2 separate regions of the Homo sapiens genome follow, and region 2 is linked to region 1. The links are contacts of gene promoters, found by promoter capture Hi-C in human tissues and cell types (Jung and others, 2019). All regions are on one chromosome and are shown on one strand. The core of a region is centred on a gene start or on the middle of the fragment in contact, and the rest is flanking DNA. Distances in the headings are between cores, read along the strand shown.

Evidence for each region. Contacts are between HindIII fragments. The study calls those that stand out against the background at their distance.
Region 2: a contact is called between a fragment that was not itself captured here and the fragment with the promoter of PLEKHH2 in region 1, in 1 of the 25 tissues and cell types used here (IMR-90 fibroblasts).

What each region holds. Positions count from the first base shown.
Region 1 is chr2:43,634,989-43,641,245 of GRCh38, reverse strand. It overlaps PLEKHH2 (pleckstrin homology, MyTH4 and FERM domain containing H2), which reads right to left and starts at 3,986. Exons shown (of 30, transcript NM_172069.4): 1 at 3,867-3,986. RefSeq lists a silencer at 3,753-4,082. The HindIII fragment of the contact is 17,439 bases long and covers 1-6,257 here.
Region 2 is chr2:43,843,067-43,849,323 of GRCh38, reverse strand. ABCG8 (ATP binding cassette subfamily G member 8) reads right to left here. Exons shown (of 13, transcript NM_022437.3): 2 at 4,716-4,817; 3 at 3,013-3,169. It overlaps LOC102725159 (a long non-coding RNA gene), which reads left to right and starts at 4,804. Exons shown (of 2, transcript XR_940032.4): 1 at 4,804-4,895; 2 at 5,223-5,537. RefSeq lists a silencer at 869-918. The HindIII fragment of the contact is 5,067 bases long and covers 1,322-6,257 here.

The sequences.
Region 1 (6,257 bases), core at 2,737-5,236:
TCAAAGGACACTATCAAGAAAGTGCAAAGATAACCCACAGAATGGGAAAAATAGTTGCAAATCATGTATCTCAGGGATTTGTGTCTAGAATATATAAAGGACTCTTAGGACTCAACGATAAAAAAAGATAACCCAATTAAACAATGGGCAAAGGCCTGGACGTGGTGGCTCATGCTTATAATCCCAGCACTCTGGGAGGCCGAGGCGGTTAGACTGCCTGAGCTCATGAGTTTGAGACCAGCCTGGGCAAGGTGGCAAAACCCTGTCTTTATTAAAAAAAAAAAAAAAAAAAAAATTAGCCAGGCATGGTGGTGCAGGCCTGTAGTCCCAGCTACTTGGGGGTTGAGGCAGGAAGATCACTTGAGCCCAGGAGGTCGAAGCTGCAGTGAACCATGTTCACACCACTGCACTCCAGCCTGGGCGACAGAGGGAGACCCCGATCTTTAAAAACAATAATAATAATAAATTAAAAATAAATAAATAAAAATGGGCAAAGTATCTGAATAGAGATTTATCCAAAGAAGATATACAAATGGCCAATAAGCACATTATTTGCTATGAGAGAAAATGCAAATCAAAGTCACAACAACATTCCACTTCACATCAAATAGGATGTTCTAATGAAAAAGACATCTAACAACAAGTGTTGGTGAGGATGTAGAGAAATGGGAACCCTCATACATTGTTGGTGGGAATGTAAAAATGGTACAGCTGCTTTGTAAACAGTTTTACAGTTCCTGAAAAGTTTAAACAGGCCAGCATGGTGGCTCACGCCTGTAATCCCAACAGTTTGAGAGGCTGAGGTTGGAGAATTCATCTCTGAGGTCAGGAGTTCAAGACCAGACTGTGCAACATAGCAAGACCTCATCTCTATCAAAAAATTTAAAAATCAGCTAAGCGTCGGGGAGCTTACCTGTGGTCCCAGCTACTCGGGAGCCCTGTGTGGGAGGATCACTTGAGCAGTGAGCTATGATCATACACTGCACTCCAGCCTGGGTGACAAGAGTGAGACACCGTCTCAAAAAAAAAAAAAAGTTTAAATATAAAGTTACCAAGTTATTGGAGTAACTTTATATTTGGTATATCAATATAAAGTATTGGTAACTTTATACTTGGCATTGGAGTTGCTGGGTCATATGCCAAGGGATGGGGTCATATGCCAAGGGATGAAATACACATCCACACCAAAACTTGTAAATAAATGTTCAGAGCAACATTATTCATGATAGCCAAAGAGTAGAAACAGCCTGTGTCCACCATCAGATGAATGAATAAAATGTAGTAGATCTGGCTGGGTGCAGTGGCTCACTCCTGTAATCCCAGCACTTTGTAGGGCAAAAGCAGGTGGATCATCTGAGGTCAGGAGTTCAAGACAAGCCTGGCCAACATGGCAAAACCCCGTCTCTACTAAAAATACAAAAATTAGCCAGGCATGGTGGTGCAGGCCTATAATTCCAGCTACTAGGGAGGCTGAGACAGGAGAATTGCTTTAACCCAGGAGGCAGAAGTTGCAGTGAGCTGAGATCCTGCCATTGCACTCCAGCCTGGGTGACAGAGTGAGACTCTGTCTCAAAAAAAAAAAAAAAAAAAAAAAAGTGGTACATCCATACAATGGAATATTATTCGGCCATAAAAAAGGAATACAGTACTAATACACGCTATAGTCATGGAAGAGCCTTGAAAACATTATGCTAAGTGAAAGATGCCAGACACAAAAGGCCACATATTGTATGAGTCCATTTACATGAAATGTCCATAAGAGGCAAATCCAAAGGACAGAAAGTAGGTTAGTGGTTGCCAAGGGCTGTGAGGAGAAGGTAGCAGATACTGACTACAATGGATAGGGGGTTTCTTTTTGGGGTGATGAAAATATTCTAGAATTAGATATTGGTGATGGCTATACAACCTTGTGAATATACCAAAACCCAGTGAACTGTATACTTTAAAAGGAAAAATCTTATAGTTTGTGACTTATATTAAGATCTCAATAAAAAAGATCACATATTTACAAATGACTAAAGAAAAAGTCGCAGTTTAAATGGATGTATACTAGGACTGCATTTACAAATTTAATCAACCATTATTTGTGGTTATCCCTGCCAAGAATTTCACAATTAGCTCAAAAAATTGAGAGGTAACTGTTAACCCCAAATATGAAAAGTATCATACATATATCTTACCTAGCGCACTTTGCTATGATGACATAATAAATTAATTCAAAGTCAAACATACCTATTTCTTTAGTTATGCTAATTATATATTTTATAGTGAAGTAGCAAAGCCTTAAGAATATTATTAAATTGGCATTTAACATCTACATTCCCTATTAATGGGTCATAATAAATCAGAACTGCAAATTGGTTGGATAATGGTCTGCACTGAGATCCAGACACCTGATTCCCTCATTTCATTCTGTAATTTCAGTTAGTTAACAAGTACAAAGCAACTGTTGTATTAGTGCACCATCTTGGGTAGTTAAAAATTCTAATTTTAAACAATATCCGCCATCCTTTTCATTACCACTAATGTTATAGAACTATATAACATTGGGAATATATATATAACTATATAACATAGCCGACTGCTAAATAAAGAAAATACCACATATAGATTCTGAATTTGAAAGGAATCTATCATGTCTAGATTCTGCATTTGAAAATAATCTATCTTCACTTCAGGGGACAGGAAAAAGTCTTGGAGTTCCAAATACCCCCAGTGATTTTTGGAAGTATTTACTGACATAAGATAAACTGTTTACAATTGTGGAGTGAATGCTCTTTTCTCTGAATCTCTGACTTCCTGTTTCTCTTCCAAATCCCAAAAAGGAAAGAAAAAGAAATGAAAGAATTATTCTACTTAGGCTTACCCTGATGAAGCGCAGCGTTAGTCTCTATGATATTCTTTAGTTTTTGCCTCTTAAGGGACAGCTTAACTGGGCTGGGTAATCGTGTGTGTGAGTGTGTGTGTGTGTGTGTGTGTGTGTGTGTGTGTGTGTGTTAAAAGATCTTTCTCGACGAGACTGAGGCATGCCTTGTTTAAGGAACCTTCTGACCACCACCTAGCCACCTAGCCCCACTTGGGCAACGCCTGCCCTTCGGTGACCCTGCCCAGAACAGCCGAGCTCCTCACTACATACTCCTCTGGGACACACCGCTGTGCGGGCCAGGCTTCCAAGACTGGCATTTTCACAAAGAAAGCAGTGACCCTCAGGTAGCCCACCACCAGAGCTTTTCCAATGTAAGTGGTTCGACTTCTATTTCCACAGCGTTACGCACAACAATATCGACGGGTAAAAAGTGTTGTCCTTTAAAAAGTGCCCCACTAACTTCGGGGACAGTGGTTTCCGGGTAGGTCACCTTAGGGTGCTTTGACGTGCCAGCAACTCGAGGTGTACAAAATGCTTCTTTAAAGTTTTGAGTTTAAAGTTTCGCCCCGGAGATCCTGGTGGATCTCCCGAAGCCTAAGGCGAGCGCGGCATCCCTGACCGCGCGGGTCCCTCGGCTCGGGGACCCTGGGCTGCCCCGCTGCGCCCCCGGGACCGCTCGCGCCGCGCCAGAAGCCCGGGCCCAGTGTTTCCAAACAGAACGTCACGGGAGCCCACGGGCGCGAGGGACCGCCGGCCACCGCCCCCTGCCCACCTCTCCCGGCGACATCCAGACTTGGGGGCCGACTCTGGGCTGTGGCGGGAGGTGCAGCGGCGGATCCCGAGTCAGCCCGCTCCGTCCCTCTCGTCCCCGCCTTCCCGCTCCTCCCGGCGCCCCAAACCTCGGCCCCGCGAGCCCCCCTGGACGGGGCGCCCTCAAGGGGGCGGGGATCCCAGGGTGGCAGGAACTCTGGAGTGGCCCCTCGTCCCCGGGCTTTCTCACCTGTCTATCTCAGCAGCGGGTCCCCGGCCGCAGCGCCCGATGTCCCGGCCGCGACTGGCCCCCGGGATCCCCGGACTCTCAGCCCGCGCCCGCCTCAAGCCGAGCTCGGAGAGGGCGGGGAAGGGCACCGCCTCCTCCAGGGACTGGCAGCCGGTGTAGCCAATGGGAGACCACAGCCGACCACCGGGCGTCACCGGGGGTGTGGCTATAACTTTGGCTCCTCCCAGTCCCTGCCCCAGGAGGGAGCTCTGTCCTGGAGTGGTACCCCTAACGTCCCAACTGCGAGACTCCAGAGCTTGCTGCAGCGGCCGGTCACCTTCATTCCACTCCGTCTGCCTGGACTGTTGCAGCACCCTCCCTTGGTCTCCCAGTCTGAAGTCTCTCCTCTTGCCAATCCACCCTTCATCTTCCTGCCAGGTTAATTTCCTTAAGAGCAGTTTTGATGAACAGTGTGCCAAAGACTTTCATTGGCTTCCGTTTGCTTAAATTATCAAGAACAGATTCCCTAGTCTAGTGTTCAAGGTCTCCATCCCGTCTTTTCAGGTTTATTTCTCACAGCTGCCCTTCACACACCTGAGACTACTGCTGTGCACCTCGCCACCCGAAGGAAGTGGCACTAGGAGCGTTTACATGCTATTTCCTGTCTCCACTTCAAAAAGCTCAGAATAATCTTCTCACCGGGCGCAGTGGCTCACGCCTGTAATCCCAGTACTTTGGGGGACCGAGGCAGGTGGATCACTTGAGGCCAGGAGTTCGAGACGAGCCTGGGCAACATGGTGAAACCCTGTCTCTACCAAAAAAAAAAAAAAAATATATATATATATATATATATATACACACAAAAAAAAAAAATTAGCTGGGCTTGGTGGCGCTCACTTGTAGTCCCAGCTACTCAGGAGGCTAAGGCTGGAGGATTGCTTAAACACAGGAGATGGAGGCTGCAGTGAGCCGCGATCATGCCACTGCACTGGATCCTGGGCGACTGGGCGAGATCCTGTCTCAAATCATCATCATTATCATCATCATCATCATCATCATCTTCTCCATGTAACTATGTCTGTCGCTCCACCTGGCAGAAATGTCGTCTCTGGGCCGGGCGCAGTGGCTCATGCCTGTAATTCCAGCACTTTGGGAGGCCGAGGAGGGCAGATCACGAGGTCAAGAGATCGAGACCATCCTGGCCAACATGGTGAAACCTGGTCTGTACTAAAAATACAAAAATTAGCTGGGCGTGGTGGTGCACGACTGTAGTCCCAGCTACTCGGGAGGCTGAGGCAGGAGAATCGCTTGAACCTGGGAAGCGGAGGTTGCAGTGAGCCAAGATAGCACCACTGCACTCTAGCCTGCCTACAGAGCAAGACTCCATCTGAGACAAAAAAAAAAAAAAAGGTCTTCTCTGGTTTCTGCTCCCTGAACATCTAGATTTTTGCCTCTCTTGGGGCTTAGCTCCCTCTGCCTTATGCACAGCTCCTCACATCTCTTTTAGACTGTGAGCACTTTGAAAACAAGGATTTGTGGTTTTTTTTTTTTTTTTGCATTCTCCTCAGCACAGAGCATATTGCATAAGTAAATTAGTGATAATTTAAATCCAGGTGAATTTTACATCCCAACTTAGGGTCTGGAGAGGTCAATCTCAGGGTAAAATAAAGAGAATTCTGAATGTTATGGATAATCGTTCCCCAGGTCACAAAGCTAGGTCAGACAGATTATTCTCTTTGGTTCACAGTTGGCCAATAGAGAGTATCAGAAAAACTTTTTCTACTACAATCTTTTTTTTTTTAACTTTATCTCATCTTATATAAAACACACACACACACACACACACACACACACACACACACACACACACACAGAGGATGGGCACAGTGGCTCATGCCTGTAATCCCAGCATTTTGGGAGACCAAGGCGGGCAGATGACTTGAGGTCAGGAGTTTGAGACCATCCTGGCCAACATATCGAAACCCCATCTCTACTAAAAATACAAAAATTAGCTGAACATGGTGGCATACGCCTGTAATCCCAGCTATTCAGGAGGCTGAGACAGGAGAATCGCTTGAGCCAGGAAGGCAGCAGTTGCAGTGAGCTGAGATCGCACCACTGCACTCCAGATTGGGTGACAGAGCAAGACTCTGTCTCAAAAAAAAGGAAAGAAAAAACCACAAAAGAGATAAAGATTTTCAAAGTTTCTCAGAGGAAAAGCAATAAGTGAATACAACTAAAAGTCCAGTAAGCAAGTATCAGGCTTTCATATTTCTTCCAGATGAGCATTAATTTTGAACAGGATCCCAGACTACCCCCACACATCAAATTCCTTTTGCCTTCTGTGGGAGCTGATGATGCATATCATATGAAAAATTGTCTTCAAACAGCTTTGGCAAACAAGCAGACTGG
Region 2 (6,257 bases), core at 2,606-5,105, 210 kb before region 1:
GTAAGTTTCCTGAGGCCTCCCCAGCCATGAGGAACTCTGAGTCAATTAAACCTCTTTTCTTTATAAGTTACCCAGTCTCAGGTAGTTCTTTAGAGCAGTGTGAAAACGGACTAATACACCTTCCATGAACTAAGACAAAACACCCACTGGCATTCAAGACCCTTATTCAATGGCTGGAATCTCCAAATCAATAAACTCATCAATTGGAAACCACTTTTGGCATTGCTGAGAGTATAAAAGAAACTAAAATGCCTAGGGCTGCTTTCTTTTCTTTTCCTTTTTTTTTTTTTTTTTTTTTTTTTAGACAGTGTTTTGCTCTTGCTGCCCAGGCTGGAGTGCAATGGTGCAATCTCAGCTCACTGCAACCTCCACCTCCAGGGTTCAAGCGATTCTCCCACATCAGCCTCCCAAGTAGCTGGGATTACAGGCACGTGCCACCACGCCCAGCTAATTTTTTGTATTTTTTTTTTAGTAGAGACAGGGTTTCACCATGTTGGCCAGGCTGGTCTCGAACTCCTGACCTCAGGTGATCCACTTGCCTCAGCCTCCCAAAGTGCTGGGATTACAGGCATGAGCCACCGTGCCCAGCCTGGCTGTTTTCTTTGTATTTTAAAAATTATGGCCAGCGTTCTTTTGTGTGTATGTTGGGCAGGGGGAGAGGGGGATGGCAGTAAAAGTCACAGGAAGTGTAGTTGATGAACCTTTCTAATAAATCATTTTAATAATTTCAGCTGCTCAGTTAAACTAAATTTGGCCTGAGGCTGCCTGCATACTTTGAGTTCCCACAGAGCAAACTGCAAGCAAACTTAGTATGTAAACAAACTGCAACTTATCTTAGCAGTATATTCTCTTAAGACAGAGACTGGCTGAGACAAGTTGCTGAGTCTCAGCCAATCATGGCAGCCAAGCATCAGCCAATCACAGGCTACCGACTGATGAGCTCCTGTCCATACCCAACACCTGATCACATCACCCTCAAATAAATAAGGTGAACACCCAACTGTAACCAATCAGCTATTTCTGTAGGGCACTTCCTTTTTCTGTCTATAAATACTGCCTGACCAAATTGCTTGGGGGAGCCTCTGAACTGGTCCTGTTTTTGAGTGCTGCCAGATTCATTAATCACTATTTGCTCAGACAACTCTACTATTTATTTGTCTAAAGTTGTTTGTTGTTGTTTTGTTTTTTGTTTTTGTTTTTTTTACACAGGCAAGTAAACCTGAAGCCAAACAACACTGAATCTATAAACAACCAGGAGATGCTCGGTGCAGTGACTCATGCCTGTAATCCCAGCACTTTGAGAGGCCAAGGCAAGCAGATCACCTGAGGCCAGGAGTTGGAGATCAGCCTGGCCACCATGGCAAAACCATATCTCTACAAAAAATACAAAAAAAAATGAGCCAGGCATAGTGGCACCCACCTGTAATCCCAGCTACTTGGGAGGCTGAGACATGAGACTCGCTTGAACCCAGGAGGAGCGGGTTGCAGTGAGCCGAGATCACACCACTGCAATCCAGCCTAGGCAACAGAGAGAGACTGCCTCAAAAAAACAAAACAACAACAACAAAAAAAACAAAACAGGAGACTATTCAGTGTAATTTATTCATTCCTTTCTAAGAGACGGGATCGTGCTCTGTTGCCCAGGCTGGAGTGCAGTGGCGCGATCTCGACTCACTGCAAGCTCCACCTCCCAGGTTCACGCCATTCTCCTGCCTCAACCTCCCAAGTAGCTGGGACTACAGGCACCCACCACGACACCCAGCTAATTTTTTGTATTTTTAGTAGAGACGGGGTTTCACCGTGATAGCCAGGACGGTCTCGATCTCCTGACCTCGTGATCTGCCCGCCTCGGCCTCCCAAAGTGCTAGGATTACAGGTATGAGCCACTGTGCCTGGCCGGGATCTACTTTTTTCTTATTTAGGTCAGGATTGCAGGGACAGGGACAGAGTGAGAGGGACTTCATGACTGTGATGCTGTTTCAGTTACAAAGTGCATTTATACATAAGATTTCATTTGATCTTTGGTTATACGGTAAACAGAACTTATCTACCAGACGGGTGTAAAAGTTTGGAGCAGAATGTTTAAAAAATTGAGTAATCTCTACCTCTGGAAATGATTAATTAAAAGATATAAAATGCTCTCTCCAGCACTATGTAAGGGTGTCCCAGGGAGAAATGTCTTGATCCGAGAATGATGAAACCAAAGTTCTAGTTCTAGCTCTGCATTAAATATGTGTCCTTACGAGAATCCCTCAATTTCTTTGGATTTGAGTCTCCTCATCTGTCAAATGGAGGGGAGTGTGTGTGTGTGTGTGTGTGTGTGTGTGTGTGTGCACGCGCGCGTGCAGGAGGATACTCTAGACACACTGAGGAGTAGGGAGTTTGAACACCTTCCTCTGAAAATGCTTCCAAACTGGTAGGGAGAAAGAAAGGTGGAACATGATGAGAATGACCTCTGTTCCCCAAGCCCCCTTTCAGCTCAGACATTCTCTCATTTTAAATTTGGCCATGGAAATGACAATTTGAGGCACTCCAAGAACCTGGCTCTTTGCAGATGAGTGAAAGTTGTGCTAAGTAAGACACTGGAGAGGCTGTCTGAGAGGTGAGAGTGTGGCAGGGGCTGTCTGGCCATAATCAGAATGTGATTGTGGAGGAACAACCTGAACCAATGCCCCTCATGGCTGGAGGAGTCTGAAAAGAACATTACATGCTGGAGCTGTTTGCTGATCTCTCCGTCCAGGTGTTAGCCAAAGTCAGATGCTCTGGCCACAGCCTCGGGTGGACAAGAGGCGCACTCATGACTCTTAACAACAGCACCTACCCTCAAGCCAGCAAATGGAGGAGCCAGGATTTGAGCCCAGGTCTGTCTGACCCAGAACCTGTGTTCTCAGCCATTCTGCTGTATTATTCTACTAGTCAGCAAAGAGCTCCATAAGAAGCATCCATTTGTCCAAAGGACCATTCTGTATCCCAGGAGAGAAACCATTGCCCAGCGATTTGCCTTTCCGGTACCTGAGCTCCCTATGATGGCCAGCATCTGCCCACTTCTCACTTTGAAGCTTAGGTTCTGGATGCCCAGCTCACAAGAATTCTGGCAGCTGGGAGATGTCCAGGGCATCTTGAACTGAGCCAGCTGCTCAAACCAAGGGACCTGAGAGGCCAGGTCCACCTGTGGGGAGATATCAGAAGGTTCCTTAGAGAGCTGAATGGTTCAGAGGGCTTCAGCAACTTCTGTTCAGCATCTTCGTTCCCCAGGTGGCCCCTCTCCACAGAGGATATGTCCTCACCTACACACAATAGGCCCCAACCCAGGTTCTACCAAACACGGAAGCAGGACCCATGCTGAGAACCTGTAGCTGCTGTTTCTAGGTCTGAAGATAAGAAGAATGAAAAGCATGTACAGGCCAGGCATGGTGGCTCATGCCTGTAATCTCAGCACTTTGGAAGGCTGAGGCAGGTGGATCACCTGAGGTCAGGAGTTTGAGACCAGCCTGGCCAACATGGTAAAACCCCGCCTCTACTAAAAATACAAAAATTAGCCAGGCATGGTGGTGGTTGCCTGTAATCCCAGCTACTTGGGAGGCTGAGGCAGGAGAATCACTTGAATTTGGGAGGCAGAGATTGCAGTCAGCCAAGATTGCACCACTGCATCCCAGCCTGGGTGACAGAATGAGACTCCATCTCAAAAAAAAAAGTAAGGAAAAAAGAAAATCATGTGCAATAGTGGTACAGAAATAAAAATAAAACACGAAGCAAAATGTCTTCACTTGATACTAGTAATTTACTAATAATTTATCAGATGTTTACTATGTGCAAGACATTGTGTTAATCACTTAACATCCATCACCTTATTCAATCCTCACTGCAAATCTATAACATAGATATGCTCAGAATCCTTGTTTTACAGATGAGGCTCAGGGCAGTTAAGCAACTTGCTCAAGGTCACACAGCTGGTAAGTGGCAGAGCAGAGAAAGGCTCATTGGCTTGTCCCAACTCACACCCACAGGAAGCCAGACTCAGGCCTCTGAAGTTCACCATCCCAGACCCCACCATGTCCCATCTGGGTCCCTGGGGAGCTGTGGGAATATGGATCCTTGAATCTGACCAGGGGGTTCCTGGGTGCCTCTGAAAGGTCAGTCATTGTCTTTGCACTCTGGATGTTTTATAAGCTCCAGGGATAGTACATTTTACAAAAAAAAAATTATATATATATATATATATATACACACACACACACACACATATATATATAACTAATGAAATCTGAATAAAGTCTGTAGTTAATAGCATTGTACATTGTTCATTTCTTAGTGTTCATAATTATACTATGGGTATGCAAGATGTTAACATTAGGGGAAGCTGGACAATGGGTATATGGAAACACTGTGTTATTTTTGCAATTTTTTCCAAAATCTAAAGTTATTTCAAAATATAGTTTAAAAAGAGTCCCAGAGACATTTTTCTATAGGTTCACGCATTTTGTTTTATGTTTATACAACAGTTTTATTCTCTTTTCAAGCCTCTCAACCTCCAGCTCTGATATATGCCATTGATGACACCTATTGCACCTGACACGTGAGGCATCAATGTGGACTGGACTCTGTCCTTGCGGGCAGAGGGCCTGCAAGTTGGGCCCACCCTTTTATTTCCACCCGGGGAATTTCCTGGCTGTCCCTGCCTGCTCCTCTCCCCTTGAACCCAGGCGTGCCTCTACCTGGTAGTTGAGGTCTCTGACCTCCAGGGTGTTGGGCTGGCCACTGTAGGTGAAGTACAGGCTGTTGTCACTTTCAGAGGAGAACAATCTATCCTGGAGGCCCTGTGGGAGACAGGAGAGATGAGGGGCTCCTTTAGAAGCTGCTGAGAACATAGGAGAAGACAAGAAGGAAACCAACAGGTGAGAGCAACTTCTTAGAGCCGACGTGGTTAAATCTCAAATTGGCAACAGATGGGATTGCACAGGTGGAACCTCAGGGCTTTGGGAAAATAGGAGTGCTGACAAGGGCCCATCTCCTCTTCCCTTCAGAGAGAGGTTTGGGGCTTCTCCCGGGGCACCTTCCCAGAGAACCTCAACCTCAGGCTGGTGGAGCCTGAAGCCAAGCAGCTTCTGGTAAAGAGACCCAGACTCTGGACCGGAGAGAGTTCTATAAAAAAACCTCTGTGCTCTGAGAAGACCTGACTGGAGTGGGCAAACTCTTTGCCTTTAACTTTCTCTTCCCTGCAGCTGGCTTAATATCTCCTGAGGCCAAACAGACATGACACTTGCAGCATGTGAGAGGGAAGCAGCTGTTGAGAGTTAATGCCCAATATTCATGAAGATACCACCCTGAGAAAAATTCTAACCAACATCTTAGTCCTCACTAACATCTGGCATACTTCTCCTCATATCTGATTTTGATGAAGAGTTCATGCAACAAAGTGATGGAAAATGCTGCTGGGAGCTTTGAGAGGAAGTCCCTCTCATCATCATCATCATGTTGTTGTTATTGTCGAAGTGGTGGTATATTTGAATGTACATTAAAAAATCAATGTTTCATGGTGTCGGCTGATACCTTTGAATGGTATTAACCATCTGCAGATCTCAATTCCTCCTATTTTGACAATTCAATCATTTAAACCATTGAGGCCCAAACAAAGAAGCAACAGGAAGTCCCCCATCATTTCTTTTTCTTTGGATTGGGTCTCGCTCTATCACCCAGGATGGAGTGCAGTGACATGATCACAGCTCACTGCATCCTCAACCTCTCAGGCTCAAGCAATCCTCCCACCTCAGCCTCCCCACCACACCCAGCTAATTTTTGTATTTTTTGTAGAGACAGGGTTTCACCATGTTGGTCTCAAACTCCTGGGCTCAAGTGATCCACCCACCTCAGCATCCCAAAGTGCTGTGATTACAAGGGTGAACCACCTCGTCTGACCTCCATTTTTTACTGCATTCAATTTTTCTTACATTTCTGTCAGGCAGGAACAAGTACACTTTCATTAACAAGTTCCCATAGACTTTCCTCCTCAAGCTACCATTCTCACACTATACATTCCTTCAATCAACCATGCACCCAACAAACACTTATGGGGAGCCCAGAACACCCTTCAGGCTTGGAATTTGGGATGTGACAATGAAAAGGCCGTTGAAAAGCTTAGATTTTGGCAGATGAGACAGGTGATTACGATGGAGCGAGACAGACCAGGCAGAGAGGGAGGCTGACCTCAAGCATCTGACCAGGGTTTATTTTCACTATGTACACAATGCACGCACATG